Regions from separate parts of the Homo sapiens genome. Here all the other regions are linked to region 1. The links are contacts of gene promoters, found by promoter capture Hi-C in blood cells and fetal thymus (Javierre and others, 2016). All regions are on one chromosome and are shown on one strand. The core of a region is centred on a gene start or on the middle of the fragment in contact, and the rest is flanking DNA. Distances in the headings are between cores, read along the strand shown.

Evidence for each region. The method cuts DNA at HindIII sites, captures the fragments that hold promoters and counts their contacts. A CHiCAGO score of 5 or more calls a contact.
Region 2: a contact is called between a fragment that was not itself captured here and the fragment with the promoter of SHISAL2B in region 1, in 1 of 17 cell types (M0 macrophages). The highest score is 6.1, in M0 macrophages.
Region 3: a contact is called between a fragment that was not itself captured here and the fragment with the promoter of SHISAL2B in region 1, in 2 of 17 cell types (total B cells and M2 macrophages). The highest score is 5.5, in total B cells.

Annotation. Positions count from the first base shown.
Region 1 is chr5:64,688,864-64,692,219 of GRCh38, forward strand. It overlaps SHISAL2B (shisa like 2B), which reads left to right and starts at 1,640. Exons shown (of 3, transcript NM_001164442.2): 1 at 1,640-1,951. The coding sequence starts at 1,761. RefSeq lists enhancers at 51-552, 59-353, 1,611-2,111 and a silencer at 59-353. The HindIII fragment of the contact is 3,472 bases long and covers 391-3,356 here.
Region 2 is chr5:65,533,336-65,536,691 of GRCh38, forward strand. The region is part of intron 6 of CENPK (centromere protein K); the gene reads right to left. Among named protein-coding and RNA genes, the nearest start is that of CENPK, 28 kb to the right of the region's middle. The HindIII fragment of the contact is 1,208 bases long and covers 1,131-2,338 here.
Region 3 is chr5:65,492,918-65,496,273 of GRCh38, forward strand. It overlaps a transcript of CENPK not described here. Among named protein-coding and RNA genes, the nearest start is that of ADAMTS6, 13 kb to the left of the region's middle. The HindIII fragment of the contact is 236 bases long and covers 1,742-1,977 here.

The DNA.
Region 1 (3,356 bases), core at 390-2,889:
GTACATGTTGCAGGGGGTCAGGATGTCTAGCATCCCTGACCCACATCCCTCAATGCCAGGACAGTGTCATCATGACAACCAAAAATGTCTCCTTATTTCCAGAATATTCTCTAAAGGGGAGTATCACCTTTGTGACACAAGAAGAAGAGAAAATAAAAGATGTAATCGATGGCTATCTTTTGGTGCGGGATCAGCCCCACCCTACTCCCTATCAGAACTCCTCCTGCCTGGAGGAAGATAACTGGGGACTAAGTCACAGGGGACTACACAGCAGGCAAGGTCAAGCAATTTCCTAACTGGTTAAAGCCGCAGTCTTAACACTGCCCTTAAGCTTCATATGGTAAAAGGCTCCTTTGTTGGTTTGAACTTCAGAGGCCTCAAGATACTCCAAGCTTGGTGAAATTTGGCCTCTGTGGTCATGCCTGTCTCTGGATTTTTCTGTGTTTTATGTGTTCCCACCAGTCACAATGGTAAGCCCTATAATTCACAAGTTTTGGGTAGAATAATTCGAAGGGTATTGCCTCAGTAGTGGGGAAAAATTCAGTCCTAAAGGCTAATCTAGTCCAGCCTAACAAATATTAAAAACAAACCCGAAAGACTCAAACTGTTTCCTGCATCCCAGTACAAAGCTCAAGAGTATTTATAGGAATGCAAAAACATCCAGTACCCAACAAGGTAAAATTCGACGTCTGGGATCCAATCAAGCCCCTGGCCAAGGGAAGGAAGCAGAAATGAAGAGGGAGAAACAATGCTCTATCTTGTACATTTTATGAATGTTATAATCGCCTCCTCTCCCATCGTAAGACTATTATTACCTTTTTGTTTATACACCCAAGCATTGTTTGGCTTATCACAATAAGCATGCATTATCATCGTTATTTTAAAAAGGCTTTGTGAACAAACCAATCAAGAAAATGGGAATATCAAACAAAAAGGAGACAAAAGAAGTTCCTACAGCACATCAAAACTGACTGAAGGTCTCTTTCTCCCTATTTCCTTTGCCTTTTTTTTTTCCTCTGGCTGCCTCCCTCTCTAGAAAGTTCTCACTTTCTTTACCTTCATGTCTTGCGTTTCTTAAACTTTCTGGATTTTTCAGCTGAACACCGAATGCAACTGCACCATGGCCAGTTGTTACAGGAGACTTTGTTTCTTGTTTTTTATTTTTAAATGGGCAGATCTTAATGTTTCACATTTACTTCTCAAAGAAAGAGAACACCAACTCCGCCTCTCTGGTGTTCAGCTGCCTTTTATCTGGTCCTCTCCTCCACTCCTTGAGTCAATGGCCGGGCAGTTAAGTCTCCACCAGACCCAGTCTGTTTGCCCAGAATCCACCTGCCCTGTCCCTAGACAGGAAAACTGCAACTTAGGCAGCATCTGCCTGCACTGAAAACATGTCCCACCTCTTCTTTTTTCCCTCTGGAGAAAGCTCTTTCTGGCATCGAGTGGGGACAGCTAAGGTCTCCAGGCTGCTGATGAAGTGAGGGAAAGTGGAGGAGAGTCGGCGCCGAGATGGGCGGATAAAAGGAGCGACCGCTCAGCAGCGAGAGGGAGAGGCGAGAGTAAGGCGCCCAGACACCATGTGGACAAGGGGAGGAGAGAAATCAGAGGTGGCGCGCGAAGGCTGAGCGCCCAGGCAGCCAGAGCCCAGATCGGAAGAGCCGAGTCCGGGCAGAGGGGTCCGCGGGCTCTGGAGGTGCTGGACGGGTGCGATCCGAGAGCAGACCGGGGCCCTCGCGAGCCTCTCCCGGCCCCTGCCCGCGATGAGCGAGGCCAGCCGACTGTGCTCCGGCTACTACAGCCTCAACCAGAGCTTCGTGGAGCCCTTCCAGTGCCCCCGGCGCGGCGAGGGGGCAGCGCTCCAGTATTGCTGCGGCTTCGCCGACCTCAAGTACTGCTGCAGCGAGCCGGGCAGCTACTTCCCCTACAAGCACAGCTACATGTGGAGCCTCAGGTGGGCTGAGAGCCCGCGCGTGCGGCGGCTGGCCGAGCCCGGGGCTAGGGAGGCGACAAGCGGAGCCACGCCAGGGCCAGGGAGGTTCCCCCGCGTCCCCGCTATCCGCCCTAGGTTAGGTCCCTACGGAAGGACGCGGAGCCTCTGAGGGCGGGTGAGGGCAGGGAGAGAAATCTCGCCCCGGCTCGGAGCTCCCCCGGGAGCCAGGACAGGAGGCGAGGCGCACGCTGGAGGAGCGCGGGCTTTGCGCCCAGGGCGCACTTGGGGCCCGCCTGGCTGGCCCCGCTGAGTTCCCCGCCCGCCTCCCGGGAGCCGACTGCTCTCCCCTCGCCGGGACCAGTCCCAGGCTGATAGCCCTACTGGTGGAGCGCGAGGACAGGAAGATAACCCAAGGGGAAGGTTTAAAATCCTCTTTTTGGTTTATCTGGTGTATTTGAAGAGAAAGGAGGCTCCTATGGGGCTCTTCTTACTGCATTAACAAGGACCAGAGTATTTTAAGACTCTTTGAGGGGTGTGAAGGAATTGGCTGTGTTCTTTAAAATACATGTATATTTTTAAAAGTGTGTGTGTGTGTGTGTGTGTGTGTGTTCCTGAGGGCCTGTGCAAGCAACTGGGCTTTACGACTTGCACTTTTTGGAGGATCTGACCCCTACCCTGGAGAGAATTGAAGCGACACCAAGAAAGGTACAGCTTTTGGTTGCTATGATTATACACACACTCTGTAGAACAGGACACCCCCTTTCTTGAAACCCGAGCCATGTGGCTATTGCTGGAATGTGAAGAGACTTTCTAAGGTGAGGTCTTTCTTGTTTCTTTTTCCCATAGTGGCAATTTTATTTTACTTATTCCAACTAGTATTGATGTAGACATTTTCATTATGAATTGCTTTTCCCACTTCCACTCTGAAGGGCTGCAAACTTTAAACTTGATTTTTCATTTTGCTTGAAGAATGAATGGGGTTCAACAATCAAGGAACGAGCTCCCACCTTAAATTGTTTTGTACATATTCATTAGTTTATGGGGTTGGAGGAGATGGAGTCTGCTAGTAAGAGGTAAAGTATTGTGATTATGTCTCCCAGTCTCCTACATGACCCAGAATTTAACACACATGCCAAGTCTATAGCAAATGACTAAATGTTACTTCTTGAAGCAATAAAATATTAACATATTTTTCTATATTGCAAGCATCAAAAAGTCTCAAAAGGAGTGCCTACCTTCCAGTAAGTTTAACTGACAAAATTGTATTTTGCTGGACAGGGGCAAAATGTCAGAAAATAATGATAGCTTATCCTTAGTAGATTACATGGGGAAGAAATCTATATTGCACTGGTTTATTATCTGGCCTTTTGGAAAATAACAGAGTAATCTATCTCTGGGTCATTGGAGGCGTTACTAATGGCAGAAG
Region 2 (3,356 bases), core at 485-2,984, 840 kb after region 1:
TAAGACCCTGTATCAAAATAAATAAATAAATAAATAAAATAACAAAATAAAATAAGACTTCATAAACTGTAACAGAAGAAAATTTCCGCAATCTGCTTAAAAGTGTCTACGAAAAACCTACTGCTAACATCACACTTAATGGTGAAGGGGCAAATGCTTTCCGATAACATCAGGAACAAGGCAAAGATGTCCATTCTTACCGTTTCTATTCAATATTTTACTGAAGTACAAGTTCTAGGACAGCAAAATAACCCCCCAAAAAGAGATAAAAATTATACAGAAGGGAAAAGATATGTAAAACTGTGTTTGATCTCAGATAATAAGGATGTAGAATAAAAGTTTCTCAAGTTCACTGGATACAAAATCAATATATACATATTAATTGTATTTGTATTTATTAGTAATAAATAAAAATTGAAATTTAAGGCCGGGTGCAGTGCCTCAAGCCTGAAATCCCATCACTTTGGGAGGCCAAGGTGGGCAGATCATGAGGTCAGGAGATCGAGACCATCCTGGCTAAAATGGTGAAACCCCATCTCTACTAAAAATACAAAACAAAATTAGCCAGGCGCACTAGTGGCGGATGCCTGTAGTCCCAGCTACCTGGGAGGCTGAGGCAGGAGAATGGCGTGAACCCGGGAGGTGGAGCTTGCAGTGAGCTCAGATGGCACCACTGCACTCTAGCCTGGGTGACAGAGCGAGACACCGTCTCAACAAAAAAAAAAAAAAAAAAAGGAAAAAGAAAAAAATTGAAATTTAAAAGAATACCATTTAATAGTCAAAATTATGAAATAATAAAGGGATGAACTTGACAAAAGATGTGCAAGACCTGTATGCTGAAAACTACAAAACACTGGTGAGACAAAATGTTTAAATATCAAATAAATGGGGACCTAAATAAATACAAAGATGATACAGTGCTAATGGATCTGCATTCAGACTAAGTATGTTAAAGATAGCAATCTTCCACAAATTAACCTATGATTCAGGGAAATTTCAATCAAAGTTCCAGCTTTTTATGGGGCAGAATGACAAACCAATTCTAAAAGTTACATGGAAATATGAAACAATTTTGAAAAGAACAACAAAGTTAGAGAATTCATAATACTTGATTTCAAGACTTATTTTAAAGCTTTGGTAAAAAACATAATGTGGTATTGGCTTAAAGACAGAAACACAGAACAAAAAAACAGAAATATCCAAAGCACAGAATAGAGAAAAACAGAGTTCAGAAATAGATACACATATACATGGTCATTAATTTTCAACAAAAGTGTAAAGGAAATTCAAAAAAGAAAAGATAGTTTCTTCAACAAATACCGCTGGAACAGTCAGTATCCAAATGAAAACAAATGACCCGATATCACTAACTCATACTATATATACATAAACATTAACTCAAAATGGATCATGAACCTAAATACTGAAACCTAAAACTTAAAAACTTTTAACAGAAAATACAGGAGAATATCTTTGTGATTCTGAGTTGGGCAAACAGTTCTTAGATTTGAGCTCAGACCTTAATAGAAAACTTGATTAAATGGAGTTAATCAAATTATGAACTTAAGTTCTCCAAAACACCACAGAGAAAATGAAAAGAAGTCGGGCACCATGGCTCATGCCTGTAGTTCCAGCACTTTGGGAGGCTGAAGCAGGCAGATCACTTGAGCCCAGGAGTGCATACAAGCCTGGGCAACATTGCAAATCCCATCTCTACAAAAAAATACAAAACTTAGCCAGACATGGTGGTGCACACCCATAGTCCCAGCTACTCAGGAGGCTGAAGTAGGAGAATCCCTTAAGTAGGAGAATCCCTTAAGCCTGAGGTCAAGGTTACAACGAACTGAGATGATGCCACTGCAGTGCAGCCTGAGTGACAGAACAAAACCCTGTCGAGGATGGAAGGGAGGGAGGGAGGGAGGTGAAAAGACAGTTGTGCAGGAAAGAGTTAACTCAGCAGACCTAGACTGCAAAAACCTTGGACATTACTAAAGCCTGTCTTCAGAACTGCCCTTGGTCAGTTCCCTGAAAAAAAGCTCTGAGCCCTTGGAATACTCTACTTGATGAGCATTTTTCTATGTCTAGAACCTTGGGTCACATGGCACCAGCTTGATTAGAGAGTTTATGCTAACTATGTGATTTGTGTTAAATGCATTTTTACTCTATGCGGATGGAGTATACATAGTTAAGGTCAGTTACACAATACCTGACTGACTCCCAATAAAAACCCTAAACAAGGCTCAAGTGAGATTCTCTGGCTGCCAACTCGCCACGTCACACATAGTTGCAGGGAGAATTAAGCGCATCCACACAACTCTACTGGGAAAGAACTCTTGTAAGCTTATCCCATGTGCCTTTTCCTTTGTTCATTGTAATGTTCTCTCTCACTTTAATAAGCTGCAACCAAGAGAACAGCAGTTCTTCTGAGTCCAGTGAGTCTATCCCACAAATCATTGCACCTGAGGGCAGTCTTAGAGAAAACTCTGACACAACTAGCATTACAAATGAGATTTCCTATAACTCCTGCTAGCTGAAACATAAGGAAAGCACTGTTTGAGAAAAGGAAGGATTACAGGGCGGGTAAAGTTTGATGTCAGATGGTTACTGAGTCACCGATGGTATAAAACAACAGCTGCACTGCGATAAGTTACTGTAGGTAGAAGTTACCAGTAAAATATACAATGATAGAACCAGCTCCTGTAGAGCTGGCTCACTGAATATACAACAAAATGTAAAATGAGAAACAAGCTAAATATACAATCCCCTTCTTATTTTTAACTGTAATGAAAAATAGCTAAAATGAAAGTTTTTGGGACAGATGCTGGCACTGCATCAAGTTTGGATTCTGGCCACTCTAAGCTACAGTTGCTAGTTTGGGGTTGCTAAGAGTTGCTATGAAAGGGAAAAATTTTGCTGGATCATCTGCCATGGGTCATTCTAAACTCATTGTGTTGGAAATTTGGTGGATCTTTTTCAATGTAAAGAATCGTTATCTTAGCCAAGCACAGTGGCTCACGCCTGTAATCTCAGCACTTTGGGAGGCCAAGGTGGAAGGACTGCTTGAGACCAGGAATTCAACACCAGCCTTAACAACATAGTGAGATCCCATCTCTACAAAAAACCAAAAATAAAAAATAAAAAAATTAGCCAGGCATGGTGGCACACACCTGTACTCCTAGCTACTTGGGAAGCTAAGGCAGGAAGATCATTTGACCCCAGCAGTTTGAGATGAGACAGCTATAATCTTACTACACTCCAACCGGGGCAACAGAGTAATAACCTGTTTCAAAGAAAAAATATATATATATGTAGGGATTGGGGGGGAGAATAATTATCTTTTATTCTGAGAAAATGTC
Region 3 (3,356 bases), core at 610-3,109, 800 kb after region 1:
AACATTCTCACTTAATTGTGGAAGGTAAAAATTAAAACAATTGAACTCATGGAGACAGAGAATAGAAAGACGGTTACCAGAGGCTGGGAAGGATAGTGGGGGGCAGGGGGTTGAGGAGAAGTGGGGATGGTTAATGGGTACAAAATAATAAAGAAATGCATGGCTGGGCATAGTGGCTGTAATCCCAGCACTTTGGGAGGCCAAGGTGGAAGATTGCTTAAGCCCAGGAGTTCAAGACCAGCCTGGGCAACATATGGGGACCCTGTCTCTACAAAACATAATTTAAAATAAAATTTTTAAAAAAGAATACATAAGACCTAGTATTTGCTAGTTCAAGACCTAGTATTTGCTAGGGTGATTACAGTCAAATATAATTTAATGGTAGATTTTTAAATAACCAAAAAAGTATAATTAGATTGTTTGTAACACAAGAGAGAAATGCTGGAAGTGATGGATATCACATTTACCCTGATGTGATTATTACACATTGTATGCCTGTATCAAAATATCTCATGTGCCCTATAAATATATACACCTACTATGTGCCCATAAAAATAAAAAATAAAAAATAAATTAAAAAATAAAAACAGAATGAAAGATATAGAAAATAAACGTGTATTTTTTCAGTTTTGAGAAGGCAAGCTAATTAGAAAAAAAAACTTAATTCCTCATCTTATGTCATTTGCCAAAAATCCTTCTAAATATACATAAAATGAGCAAACAGATGAAAATTAATTATTGATATGAGGGTTAGAACCTGGGATCCAATCTCAAAATTAGTCATATTCCTGAAAAATGGATTCAGAACAACTGTACAAAAACAGACAAATACATACCAGAAAAAAACCTTCCTGAATTTAAGAATGACTTAAATTAGAAGATTAAAAGTTTCATTCTTTTCCTGGTAAAATCAATGTAAAGAAACCAAAACCTAGACATATCCTGGTAAAATGTTTAAATGTTTAAAAGAAAAAAAAAGCTAAAAAATTGTTTGTTGAAAAAAAAAGAGAGAGACATGAGACCATCATTCAAGAGTAAAAAGTAGACTTTTCATAAAACAAAAAGTCATACGCTTTTTACCACAGAACAGAAAGACATTCTATGATGTGTAAAGGCTTAACATCCTTCCTTCCTTCATTCATTCATTTATTATTTTATGCAGGCAATATTTATTGAATACTGACTATAAGATATGTATTTGAAAGTAATTATTGAAGGCATATATCAGCAGTCTAAGTGATATAAAAAATAACAACTCAAAAATGGGAGAAATTGACATATAAAAGGACCAGCAATAAGAAAAAAAATCAATTTAACAGAGTTAAGATTAAATCACAGTTACAAAAATAATTACAAAAGGCTGGGTGCAGTGGCTCACGCCTGTAATCCCAGCACTTTGGAAGGCTGAGGTGGGTGAATCACTTGAGGCCAGGAATTCGAGACCAGCCTGGCCAACATGGTGAAACTCCATCTCTACTAAAATTGTAAAATTAGCTTGGCATGGTGGCAGACGTCTGTAATCCTAGCTACCTCAGGAGGCTGAGGCAGGAGAATCACTTGAACTTGGGAGGTGGAGGTTACAATGAGCCAAGATCATGCCACTGGCACTCCAGCCTGGGAGACAGAGTGAGACTTTGTCTCAAAAAAAAAAAAAAAACACAAACACACACACACACACACACACACAAAAACAATAATTACAAAAGTATATGCAAAATAAAATTGGAAGGTTAAAAATTAAAGCTTGGGCAATGATTTCTTAGGGAAATACTGCCACCCAAACCAGGGGTGACAATATTAATTTCAAATAAAGTAGAGTCAAAATAAAAACTACTACAAAGGACCAGGAGAATCATAGTCCTTTACAATGATCAACAATCCCGAACTGTTATGCACTAAATAACACAGCATCAAAATACTTAAAATAGAAACTCTTACAAACTCCAAGGAGAAATTGATAGACATGCAACCATAGTAAGCTTCTTGATAAATCAGGTACACTTTTAAAATAATGTGATAAATTTCAGGATTAAATAACTGCATTACAAATGAAGCCATTAAAAAATCTAGGGTAGCCTGGTTCAGTAGTGTGTCACTGTAGTCCTAACTTCTTGGGAGGCCAAGGCAGGAGGATCGCTTGTGGCCAGGAGTTTGAGGCTGTAGTGTGCTATGATCATGCCTGTGAATAGCCACTGCACTCCCAGCCTAAGCAACATAATGAGGCCCTGTCTGTAAAAACATGGGGGTGGGGGGACAGAAGAAAATATAGGTGAAGAATTAACTATCTGGGAATAGGTAGACCTAAAACAATGGAATAGACAACAAAGGGAAAGAATGACAGATCCACCTATATTGTTTGAATATTAGTAAATAAAAAGAATAAACAAAATTAAAAGGTTAACGGCATACTGGAAAAAACTACAACAAATAGGATAGACAAAAACTAAATATATAAAGTTTCCTTATAAAAAAATATCAAAAGCTCTAGCTCCATGCTAGTGCTGTCCAGTTGAACTTTCCACTATGATGGAAACGTTCTGAATCTGCACTGTCCAATATGGTAGCCACTACTCACAAGAGCACTTGAAATGTAGCTAGTGCCAATGTTGAAATGATAATATTTGGGGTGTATGTAGTTAAATAAATTTTATTAAGATTTTTTATTACTAAAATAATTTTATCATTAAAATTTATTTCACCTGTTTCTTTTTACTTGTTTAATGAGGCCACAAGAAAATTTATTATAAAATTACATACACAGTTTGCATTAGGTGTCTATTCAGCACTGTTCTAGAATAACGATCAAGGAAACAAAAAATTCACAAAAGAAGAAATACAAACAGCCAGTAATCTATGAAAAAAAGTTCCATCTCACTTATAATCCAATAAATATAAATTAAAACAAGATTTTTATAATCAAATAGACAAAATTTTAAAAAATACTCATTGTTGGCAAGGGTTCCATTAAATGGGCACTCTCATACACTGCTGGTGGTGGTATAAATTGCTTCAACCTTTCTGGAAAGGCATTTGGCAATATTAATCAAGAGCCTTAGTGGCCAGGCAAGGCGGCTCATGCCTGTAATTCCAGCACTCTGGGAGGCCAAGGTGAGTGGATTGCTTGAGCCCAGAAGTTTTAGACCAGTCTGGGCAACATGGCAAAACCCCGTCTCTACAAAAAACACAAAAAATTAACCAGGCATGGTGGGGCACACCTGTAGTCCCAGCTACTTAGGAGGTTAAGGTGGGAGGATCACTTGAGCCAGGGAGGTTGAGGTTGCAGTGAGCCATGATTATACCACTGCATTCCAGCCTGGGCTATAGAGACCTTGTCTCAAACAAAACAAAACAAAACA